2 separate regions of the Homo sapiens genome follow, and region 1 is linked to region 2. The links are contacts of gene promoters, found by promoter capture Hi-C in human tissues and cell types (Jung and others, 2019). All regions are on one chromosome and are shown on one strand. Each heading gives the region's core, a stretch centred on a gene start or on the middle of the fragment in contact. The rest is flanking DNA. Distances are from core to core; before and after follow the strand shown.

Evidence for each region. Contacts are between HindIII fragments. The study calls those that stand out against the background at their distance.
Region 1: a contact is called between a fragment that was not itself captured here and the fragment with the promoter of RNF183 in region 2, in 1 of the 25 tissues and cell types used here (spleen).

What each region holds. Positions count from the first base shown.
Region 1 is chr9:113,599,834-113,606,062 of GRCh38, forward strand. No RefSeq gene overlaps it. Among named protein-coding and RNA genes, the nearest start is that of RGS3, 140 kb to the left of the region's middle. RefSeq lists an enhancer at 1-499 and a silencer at 2,400-2,479. The HindIII fragment of the contact is 8,415 bases long and covers 1-6,229 here.
Region 2 is chr9:113,301,567-113,307,306 of GRCh38, forward strand. It overlaps RNF183 (ring finger protein 183), which reads right to left and starts at 1,810. Exons shown (of 5, transcript NM_001371237.1): 1 at 1,490-1,810; 2 at 629-747; 3 at 106-185. RefSeq lists an enhancer at 4,081-4,250. The HindIII fragment of the contact is 15,296 bases long and covers 1,135-5,740 here.

The DNA of each region.
Region 1 (6,229 bases), core at 1,801-4,300, 300 kb after region 2:
ACTGCCTGGTTTCCATTACTCACACCCTGGTTCCCTTGGCCTCCGAGTGGCTTTGGCTGTGCAGAGCAGCTGGAGGGCAGACTAGAAAGGCGTCTGGGTCCCCCTGCCCTGGGCCCTGCCTGGGCTCCCTGGAGGACCTTGGGTACATTCTCTGCCCGCTTAGGCCTCAGTTGCCTCATCTGTACAGTGTCATTTGGGCTGGTTCCCATTTTCTTTCACAGGAGAGGAAGGAGCAGTGCTCTCTAGTCTCTGGCAATTCCAGGCGGTCAACGTGGGATCACAGAGCTGTGATGTCATTTCAACCAGCTCCTCCCCATCCCACAGATGGGAAGACTGAGGGGAGGGAAGGGAAGCAGCACTCTTCACTGTAGAGCTGAAGGGCCTTGGAGTCAGGCTCTGGGGCTCAGTCTCTGGCTCCACCATTTACTAATGGCTGCAAACCTTTGAAGAAGTCATGTACCCTCTCCTTCCCTCCGCTTTCTCATCTATAAATTGTGCGCATTGGCACTTACCCCAGAGTTGCAATGACTAAGCGAGGTCGTGCATGCAACAAGTTTAGTTCAGTGCATGGCGTGGGGTAGGTGCTTCATAACCGTGAGCTGCTGTTAGCGATCTCATTATTCAAGGTCACAGGTCACATTCTCCACTTGCCCAGGCCTGAGAAGATGGGGGGGGCCTTTGGTCTCAGACCCCAGATCCTTGTCCTTCCAGGAACAGTTTTGCTGGAGGACAAAGCCAGCCAATTCCAGGGAGTAAGTGAGAAACAGCCTGTTCCCGTACTGCTGCCCAGTCTTGGCCCTGCTGGGAGCAGTTGGGGTCAGCTGGCAAATAGGTTGTGGTGGGTGGAGAGGCAAGAGGGCACAGCAGTGCCACTCAGTTGGATGCCAGCAGGAGGGGGTGCCACTCAGTTGGATGATAGCTGCCGAGGTGCCAACTGCAGCCAGGCTCCTGGTGGGAGAGTCAAGTCCCTCATGCTCTCGGCCTCTGCCATGTGAGTGACGTGCTCTCTTGACCTGTCTTGGGCCAGCTATGACCTCCCAGACTCTCCAGCTTGGAAGAGACCATTGAGTCTAAACTGCTGCCCAGCACTTAGGACCCCAGAGTTTCTGCTTGATTCCTTCCATGATGGAGCTCAGGAGGGCCTGGGAGCCCCTTGGGGGTTCCAAAGTTCTCTCCATCTGAAGTCGGGTCCTGGGGCAGGGTGGGGAAGGAGGGATAGGTTAGTCCTACCCCTGCAGGTCTCCTGCCCAGGCAGCCACCTCTGGACCCACCAGATTCTCCAGCTTCACTCCTCCCTGCTCCTCTCGCTTGCACCAAACTCTCAGCTCCCCACCCTACCTCCCTGCCTCTGCACCCCCTTGTCCCTTAACCTACTGTCCCCTCCCCAAACTCTTCCCACTGACATCCCACCCCTGAAGGCCTCTCTGCTTCACCTCCCTTCCTGCCCAAACCTCAGGCTCCTGGCGACTCCTCCACAGCCCCACCGCTCCCTCAGAGCTCTCAGGCCCTCAAGCAATGGACCTGACAGGGGTCTCAAAGAAGCCACCTGTTGGTTGTTGTTTTGCTAACAACTGGCAACATTTGTGGAACATCTGGCTTTGCCTGTCCTCTCCCTAGCCAGGGAAGGGAGGAGGAAAGTGGTGCCCCCTTCCTTGGGTGGGAGGAGGCAGTGGGGGATTGAGGAACAGCTGTGGGACTGATCCCATCTGCCGGGTACAGAAGAGAGTGGAGGCATGGCTGGGGGTGGGGAGGGCAGTGCCAGGTGGCAGGTAGATATAGGAGCCAGGACCACGCAGAGGCACACACCACGCATTCCATGCCTCATTGCCATCGATCCTCACAAAGCCCTGGGAGGAAGGGCTGAGTATTATTTTCAGTTTACAAATGAGAAAATTAGGGTTCAGAGAAAGTGGACAGCCCATCATGGCTGAACAGGGATGGGGACCTCTATCCCTGACTTCCAGGCAGCCTCAGCCAGGGCTTTCCAAAAGAATCCACACCTGCAGCCAGTCTGTGAGACTTAGTGGTTCAGCTGGAGTTGCAGATGGGGGCTTTTGATGCTGGTTCTCTTTGGCTTGTGGGCAGAATTTTTCTAAGGAAGTCCGAGGAATAGGTGAGTTTATGAATGTGCGGATGTCCGGTCCTGCAAGGAATCTCAGTTCTCAGAACTGTGTGACAAGTTGCTTTACCTCTCCGAGCCTCTGTTGTTTTAACTATGAAATGGGAATAATAATTCCACCTCCTGGGACTCGCGTGGACTTGGCAGGTTTACGAATATGTGTGAACCCTCAGCACAAGGCCAGGCACAGAGGGAGTGTGCCCTGCGGGGCAGAGGGAGGGAGGCTGGTCCAGGAGGCACTGTCGGGCCAAGCCCCAACCAGCTGTGCAGGAGGAAGCTGCCCCCGCATCTGCTCCAAGGCAGTGACTCAATGACACGACATGGGCAGGGCCCCAAGGGGGCGGGGTTTGGGCCCTAGGTTCCACATGGGCTCAGCGGGGTCCTGCCTGCCTGCTGTTTCAAAGGCAACCAAATAGCATCTGCCTCATCAGGTAGCTGGCCTGGCAGTCAGGAGTTCTGGGCTTTGAGCTCAGATCTGTCCCAAACCTCTGTGTGACCCTGGATGAGGCCCCTCTCTGCTCTGGTCCTTGGCTTCTTCTCTTGACACACAAGGAGAATCCAGCTTTTCCTCCTGCGTGAGGACCTTCGGAAGGGGCAGATGGTGCTCTGTGGGGGTGTGGGGGGCTGGGATCCAGGCCAAGCTGCCTCTGTACGCGGCGGGGTGTGTGTGCACGTGCGTGCGTATGCACAAGTGTATGTGAGCTGTGTATTCGAGTTGCTAGGGCTCTTTTTAGCTGCTTCCCAGGGGACTGGAAGGCCTACTTGGATGGAGCAGTCTGTTTATCAAGGAGCTCCACAGTCTACAGGGTTCATGCCCCTGGGGACACTGCCCTCTGTGTCCTCCAGCCAGGCTGGGGACCTGATCTGCTGGTTTTTCACAAGCTCCTGCCCTTGAGGCAAAGTCCATCCCCACTTTTTACCCCCAGCACACACAAACACAGCACCTGCTGGAGCCACCCCTCTCAGGGGATTCAGCTCAGTTTGCTATCCCCAGGGAGATATAAAAAAGAAGGGCCTGAACAAGGCACAGCCGATGCCCGCCCCCAGACTGGAGGGGAATACAGCCTCCAGTCTGGGAATATAAGTCCAGTTCCACTGCCGATCTGTCTGTGGCAAGTCCCTTTCCTCGCTGGGCCTCACTTTCCCCATCTTAAAAATGGGTGGGGCGTGTTCAAAGTGCTCTCTAGGAGCCATCCGACTCTGATGCCTCAGGCTGTATAGCTTTTCCTTCTGAGGTGCTATTGCAGCAGGAACTGGCTTGCTCTCGAGTTCTGTCCATTCCAAGGAAGGGGAGGGTGGTAACTGGGGGCTTGGGCTTTGGAGGCTGACAGACCTGGGCTTGAGTCCAGGTTCAGATGATTCTTTATTGCGTGACCTTCGGCAAGTCGCTTAACCTCTCTGGGCCACTGTTTCCACATTTATAAAGAGTTAAAGAGATTATAACCAGTTAATAATAGGTGTTACCTAGTACAGTTGTTGTGATCAAATAAAAGCAGGGGTGAACTATTTGCATTCAGCCCTGCTGGTCTGCCTTCTGGTCCTCGAATGCACCACGCTTCCTTCCATTTGGGGCCTTTCACGTGCAGTCCTCCCTCCCTGGAACACTCTTTCCCCTGCTCCCTTAGTTAATGACGATGAGGAGGAGGAGGATGAGGATGATAGCTAACATTTAATATTTTCCAGGCACTGTGCTAAGTACTTGACTGACATTTTCTTTTTTTATGCTCCCCAAAATCCTGGGAGTTAAGAGCTATTATTATTAATCACTACAGCCTAGTGCCCCGAGGCCAGGCCTGAGGACAGATTGCTCAGGGGAACTCCCAGCTCTTCCACTTAGTTGTGTAAACTCGGGCAACTTACTTCACTTTCTGGGTCTCAGTTTACCCAGTACTCAGTATCAGGCTGGGCTTGCTCTGAAGCCTGTGCTCTTGAGTAGTAGGCTGTATTCCTCCCCCTCTTCTCCAGAGCTTGGTTTAGATGTCACTGCCTCAGGGAAGCCTTCCCTGATAACCCTGACTATAAGAGGGCCCCTGCTGACTGCTCCCAAAGCCTCCTGCTCCTCCTCTTTCATGGCTCTTGTCACAGGTTGTAATTACACACACGCATATGTTCATTCATCGCTGTCTCTTCCTTTCAAGCTTAAGCCCCTTGGGGCAGGAACCCTGTCCGTCTTCTCACTGTATCCCCAGGCTTATCAATCACAGTGCCTGGCGCATGGTAGGTGCTTAATAAATACTTATTTATTGGATAAAAGGCCATATATTGCTTAGCATGGTGGGTTGCACAGGACAAGCCCATGAACAAAAAGTCTGGATAAGAAGCCACTGCATGAGTAAAGATTGAGTTCTGTTGTAAGTGACAAAAACACAAGGTAGAAGTTTCTCTCTCTCCCATAAAGGAAACTCAGGTAGAAGCAGCCTAGTGCTGGCATGGCCTTTTCGTGATCATCAGGAACCCTGATTTTGTCTGTTACTTTGCCGTCCTCAAAATGTAGCTTCCACTTCCTGTCCAAGATGGCTGCTTGAGCTCCAGCCATCACGCAAGGCTGGAGGCCAAGAAAGAGGGGGTAAAAGGTAAATTGCAGTTATGTCTTAGAGAAGGTGCTCAGAAACTGTCACATGACACTTTCCCTTACACCCCATTGGCCAGAACTGAGCACATGGCCACACTTGTTTAGAAGGAGGCTGGGAGCAGTGGCTCACACCTGTAATCCCAACACTTTGGGAGGCCGAGGTGGGAGGATCACCTGAGGCCAGGAGTTTGAGGCCAGCCTCACTAGGAGCCTCACTATGGATAACATAGTGAGACCCTGTCTCTACAAAAAATAAAAAACTCAGCCAGGCATGGTAGTGAACTCAGGAGGTTGAGACGGGAGAAACCCTTGAGCCCAGGAGTTCAAGACTGCAGTGAGCTATGATGGTGCCACTGCACTCAAGCCTGGGTGACATAGTGAGACCCTGTCTCTGAAAATAAATAAGTAAATAAATGAGAAGAGGGAAAGCTGAGAAATGTAGTGTTAATCTAGACAGCCATGTGACCAGATAAAAATCAGAGGTTCTGTTACTCTGGGGTAATACAAAGGCTGAGCAGATGTTGGGGACGACTAGCTGTCTCCGCCACTGTCATCAATGACAGACATCCATTCTCGTAAGGCTATGGAGAGGAAGTGGGGCAAGTGGGCATGTGTCAGTTAACTATTGATACAACAGTGCTGCAAAACAAACCACCCCAGGCCGGGCGCAGTGGCTCACGCCTGTAATCCCAACACTTTGGGAGGCCGAGGAGGGGGCGGATCACTAGAAGTCAGGAGTTAAACACCAGCCTGGCCAACATGGTGAAACCCTGTCTCTACTAAAATATAAAAATTAGCCAGGTGTGGTGGCACACGCCTGTAATCCCAGCTACATGGGAGGCTGAGGCTTGAACCCAGGAGGTGGAGGTTGCAGTGAGCCAAGATTGCGCCACTGCACTCCAGCCTGGGCGACAAAGCAAGATTTCATCTCAAAAATAAGTAAATAAGATAAATAAATAAATAAATAAAACCCACCCCAAAATACACTGGCCTCAAATAACAATAACTTATTCTCTCTTATGCTTCTGTAGTCAACCGACCTAGGAAGAGCTGGGTGGGACATGACCCCTCCCTGTGGGCTGGGCTCAGAACTACTCACTGTAACTTTTCCTGGAGGCAGAAGGGTCAGGGTCTACCTGGGGAAAGTTCTCACTGCAGTGAAAGCACGTGTGTGTTTTTTAAACTTTTAAAGTTTAAAATAATTATATATTCACAGGAAATTGCAAAGATAGTATAGCGAGGTCTCATGTACCCTTCACCTAGTGTGCCCCAATGAACACATCTTACATAATTATAGTACAATATCAAAAATTGAAATTGACATTGGGACAATACGTATGTACAGTTCTATGTCATTTTATCACCTGCAGATTTGTATAAACACCACCGCAATCAAGACATGGAACTATTCCATCACCACAAAGACCTCCCTCGATACCCTTTTATAGGTACACCCATTCCCCACCCCTAACCCCTCGCAACCACTAATCTGTTCTCCATCTATGTAATTTTGTCATTTCAAGAATGTGATATAAATG
Region 2 (5,740 bases), core at 560-3,059:
GGAAGGGTCAAGGTTGATTTCAAAGCCGTGACAAAGTCCTCTGCATCAAGCTTTGAGAAGCCCCTGAATCCCAGAGTGTGTTAGAAGCAGATCTTTAATACTTACCAGAGGCCGTAAACTGTATGTAACCTTGACTCATCATTTCCCCCACTGGGAATCGATTCCACGGAAACCATCAAGGACTTCTGCAAAGATGTGAGTAAAGAGATGCCCATCCAGGCGCTGGTTTAACGGTGACGTATGGAGAACTACGTCATCATCCAGTAATAGGACATTGATTAAGTAGATTCTGCTCCATCCATAGGAAGAGATATTATGCAGCCTTTAATATGATGTGGTAAAACTATTAATATGGATATATACCTAGGATATAATGTCATTAAGCGAAAAAGAACCAGCAACAAAACCATATTACCATATAATCCAATTTCCAAAAGTGTGTGTGCAATGGAAAAAATGTCTGGAGAGATAAACAACCAGATATTAGCAGTGGTTATCTCTGGGGGCAAGATTATAAGTTTTTTTTTTTTTTTTAATTCTCTTACCTGAAAATTCTAACTTTACTCCATCCAGTAAGCTTGTATTACTACACGTCAAGATCTCCTGTTTCCCCCCAAATCAGACCTACCTTCTCTGAAGTTCCATGGCCAGAACTGTAAAAGGCTGTCCAAGAGGAGGAAGCATCATTATTGCCTGGATCTTTATCTGTGCTGCTCTCCCAGGGATCCACTGCTGTTTCAGGATCAGCTGGGGAGAGATTCTGGCCATGTATCACCTCCACCCCAAGCCAGGACATCTCAGCTACAGTAAATCCTAAACACCGCCCCAAAGTCATCTCCTTGGTCTATGAACAAGTCATCGCCAAATATCAATTGTCCCCAGCATCACTCCATTGTTTTCAACCAAGAACTGGCATTTCCATAGCACTTCACAGTTTACAAAGGGCCCTGGCCCTTGCTAAGATCTAAGTGTGGTGATCCATCTAGATAGGTTACTAGCCTTTTGGGATTTTTTGTTGTTGTTTGCAGAAAGCCATTTGATACTCTAAAACCACCCTGTGAGAGAGGCTGAATGGGGAGTAGAAAGGTGCCGGCTTTGGAACCAGATTTGGAACAATTTGTCTTGGACAAATGGCTTAACCTCTCTGAACTTCATTTTCCTCTGTAAAAAAGGCTAATCATCCCACTCCTACAAGGTTGCTCTGGGGAAGGAATAGTCTATACGGTGCCCAGTAGAATACGGAAGGCGCTCAATACAGAGTTAGCATGATTATTTTTAGACCCATTTTCTAGATGGGGAAGCCAAGGCTCAGAAGGGTGAGGCAACTTGCCGAAGTCTTCCCAGCTAAAGAGTGGCTGAGTTTGAAAGATGAACCCAGTAGCCTGCCCTCCCAGGCCAGAGTTCACCTGTCGCGCGCTGCACGGCTGCTGCCTCTCTGGACTCTGGAGCCCTGTGACCCGTCCCTCCGCGACCCTCTCTGTCTCCTTACCTGCTCCCTCGGAGCCGCCTCCTCCGCCTCCGTTCGTGCAGCCCTGCACGCATGTGCTTTGTTTTCTGACTTCCCAGGCCCGATTTCCAGGTAGCGTGGGTGGGTCTTATTTGCATAGGTCTTAGCAGCGTTTGGCCAGCTCTCGCTGTTTCAGGTTTTCTTCTTCCTTCTGGTGACTTTGGACCTCCTGTACACCCTGGAAGCTTTGGTTGCTTTGTCTTTCTCCTGTGAGTCACTCTGGCTTTTTCTCTGAGGGGATCAAGTGCGCTCATCCTTGCAGGCCTCTGTTCTGGGTCCGATTGATCTCCTGCCATCCCCTCGGATTCCACTGTCCTCTGTGCGCTGACCTGCCTCGACTCCTGGCTTCTGCCGAGATGGATCCTTCCCTATGCTGAGTCCCTGTAACCAAAATACAGATAGCTCTTGCAAAATACTGACAAAAGCGGCCACTAATACAGCAGAAAAATAGTCGGGAGACGGTTGAGCGTCTGCCTGAAGAGCCAGGGTTCTCAAGCAAGGCACACTTCTAGGTCAGAGTTCAGCCCTCACTGAGAATCCAAACTCCGTTTAACTACCGATGGAGACTTGAGCAAATTAATTAACTTCTGCCAGCCTCAGTTTCCTCACCTGAAAATGGCCATAATAACCTACCTACTTGATCTGTAGATTAAATGAGGTAATACGTGTCGAGATCGCGTAATAACACAGGGCCTGGCAGACAGTAACTCGCTAAATGTTAACCAGAACTATTATTGTTATAACCGGTCTGTTCACGTGGCCCATCTTTTGTTCCCGCTCAAATTCTTTTTGTACCTATGGTCCTCTTTTCTTTCTCTCTCTCTTTCTTTCTTTTTTTTTTTCTTTCTTTTTTTTTTTTTTTTTTAAGACGTAGTTTTGCTCTGTCGCCCAGGCTAGAGTGCAGTGGGGCGATACTGGCTCACTGTAACCCCCACCTCCCTGGTTCCAGCAATTCTCCTGCCACGGCCTCCCGAGTAACTGGGACTACAGGTGCGCGCTACCATGCCCGGCTAATTTTTACATTCTTAGTAGAGACAGGATTTCGCCTTGTTGGCCAGGCTGGTCTCAAACTCCTGACCTCAGGTGATCCACCTGCCTCGACCTCCCAAAGTGCTGAGATTACAGGCATGAGCCACCGCGCCTGGCCCCTTATTTCTTTACTGACATTTTCAGCCATACTTGAGAAATAAACAAGTAAATAAATGTATCTGCTTGGTGATGTAATCAAATGCCCTAGTCCCCGCATTTTGTGTTTTTTTACATTAATTTTTATGTATTGATTTATTTTGAGACAGAGTCTCACTCTATCATCCAGGCTGGGGTGCGGTGGCACGATCACAGCTCACTGCAGCCTCAACCTCCTGGGGTCAAGCAGTCTTCCCACCTCCGCCTCCTGAGTACCTAGGACTACAGGTGCATGCCACCGTGGCTGGCTAATTTTTGTATTTCTTGTAGAGATGGGGTTTCTCCAGGTTGCCTAGGCTGGTCTCAAACTCCTGGGCTCCAGCAATCCACTTGCCAAAAGTGCTAAGATTACACTTGAGCCACCGTGCCCACATTTGATTTTTAAATAGGTAATATATTTACATGGTTGAGCATGTGAATGGTTTGATTTCACAGTGAAAACTGTCTCTTCGCAGCCACCTAGTTTCCCTGGAAATCAAAGTATTATACTATCAGTTTGTTGTGTATCTTTCCAAAGATGTTTTATACATACACAAACAGCATGTCCATGGCAAAACATCTATGTATTCCTTTACCTCCTTTTTACACAAATGTGCATATTATGTACACTGTTCTGCATTTTTCTTTTTTCATTTGATGATGTATTTGAGATATCATTCTGTATTAGTACATAAAGACCTTCTTCGGTTTTTGGCCCAGCGCTGTGACTCACACCTGTAATCCCAGCACTTTGGGAGGCCAAGGCGGGTGGATCACTTGAGGTCAGGAGTTCAAGACCAGCCTGGCCAACATGGTGAAACCCCGTCTCTACTAAAAATACAAAAATTAGCCGGCGTCATGGTGCACACCTGTAGTCCCAGCTACTCAGGAGGCTGAGGCAGGAGAATCGCTTGAACCTGGGAGGCAGAGGTTGCAGTGAGCTGAGATTGTACCACTGCACTCCAGCCTGGGCGACAGAGCAAAAAAAAAAAAAGAAGACCTTCTTCGGTTTTTTAATGGTTGTATCAGATTTCATTGAATGGCTGTACCATAAATCACTTCACCAATCCCCTATTGATCTAACCCCCTCATTATAAATATATAAATATTGAATGAAAGAATAATGCAAAAATGCTGATTTTAAGTTAGCCTAGAATTGTGTGAAAATAAAACTGTGGACTTTGGGAAGTTTTAGATCTCTAAAGAAAATGTCTAAGTAATTCTCCTCTTTCTGAGCTGGAGACGAGGTATATGATCACCGATGGCCTCAAAGTTCCTCTCAGCTCTGGAATTCCCTGCTTTTCGGTGTCACTACTGGTTAACTGAGGTTACTGGGGATTCGAGACACTGATTTAGTCCAAAGAACCTGGTTTGTATTTGAGAGTTTGGAAGTCACGCTTTCTGGCTTGGCAACATAAGAAAACATAAAGAAGTTCATCTACTTTGACCTAATCATGTAATTCCCCAGAAGCATCAAAAAGATATATTTTGGTTGAGTGAGGATATTCATTGCAGTTTTATTTTAATCACAAATGATTGAAAACACTCCAAAACCCCATCAATTAGGTGAAAAACTACATAATCATTTAAAATGATATAGAAAGATTTTCATTGACTTTTAAAAATGGTCACAGTATACTGTAAATGGAGGGGGAAAGCAGCTTAAAAATGGTGCATGTTGGCCGGATACGGTGGCTTACGCCTGTAATCCCAGCACTTTGGGAGGCCGAGGCAGGCGGATCACAAGGTCAGGAGTTTGAGACCAGCCTGGCCAATATGTTGAAACCCCGTCTCTACTAAAAAATACAAAAAAAAAAAAAACTTAGCTGGGCGTGGTGGCAGGTGCCTGTAATCCCAGCTACTTGGGAGGCTAAGGAGGCAGGAGAATCGCTTGAACCTGGGAGGCGGAGGTTGCAGTGAGCCGAGATTGCACCACTGCATTCCAGCCCAGGCAACAGAGAGAGAATCCATCTCAAAAAAAACACAAACAAACAAACCAAAACCAAAACAAAACAAAACAAAAAAACGGTGCATGTTGGCTGGGCACATGCCTATAATCCCAGCACTTTGGGAGGCCGAGGTTGGAGGATTGCTTGAGCCCAGGAGTTCAAGACTAGCGACCCCATTGCTACAAAAAATAAAAAAATAAAAAATTAGCTGGGCGTGGTGGCACATGCCTGTTGTCTCAGATACTCAGAAGGCTGAAGTGGGAGGATCACTTGAGCCCAGAAAGTCAAGGCTGCAGTGAGCCCAGATTGCACCACTGCACTCTAGCCTGGGCAACAGAGCAAAGACCCTGTGAAAGATAGAAAAGAAAAAAAGAAAGAAAAGAAGAAAAGAGAGGGAGAAGGAAGGAAGGAAAGAAGAAGGAAGGAAGGGAGGGAGGGAGGAAGAAAGGAAGGGAGGGAAGGAGGAAGGAAGGAAGGGAGGGAGGGAGGGAGGGGAAGGAAAAGAAAAGAAAAGGAAAGAAAGAGAGAATGTAGCATAAGCCAGATTTTGTAAAGCATAATTTATGTATAAAGACTGCAAGACCATGAGGCAAAATGTCACAATTTTATCTCTGGGTGATGGCCACTCATGTTTTCGCTTTCTTCTTGCTTACATTTTCCAAGTTCTCAAATATGTATTACTTTTGTAGTAAGAAAGTTCACTTAGAAAGTAAGTTAAGTCTGAGTTTTCTGCAACCAGGGTATCCAGAACTTAAAAAGATAAGCAGGTAGGGCAGGTAAGAAGTCAGTCATGACATTGTAAGCATTGAAATAAAAATAAAATAAGTCATAGCCAGGCATGGCCTGTAATCCCAGCACTTTGGGAGGCCGAGGCAGGCAGATCACTTGAGGTCAGGAGTTCGAGGCCAGCCTGGCCAACATGGTGAAACCCCGTCTCTACTAAAAATACAGAAATTAGCCAGGCATGGTGGTGGGTGCCTGTAATCCCAGCTACTCTGCAGGCTGAGGCAGGAGAATCACTTGAACCTAGGAGGCGGAGGTTGCAGTGGGCCGAGATCGCGCCATTGCACTCCAGCCTGGGCGACAAGAGCGAAACTCTGTCTCAGAAAAATAAAATAAA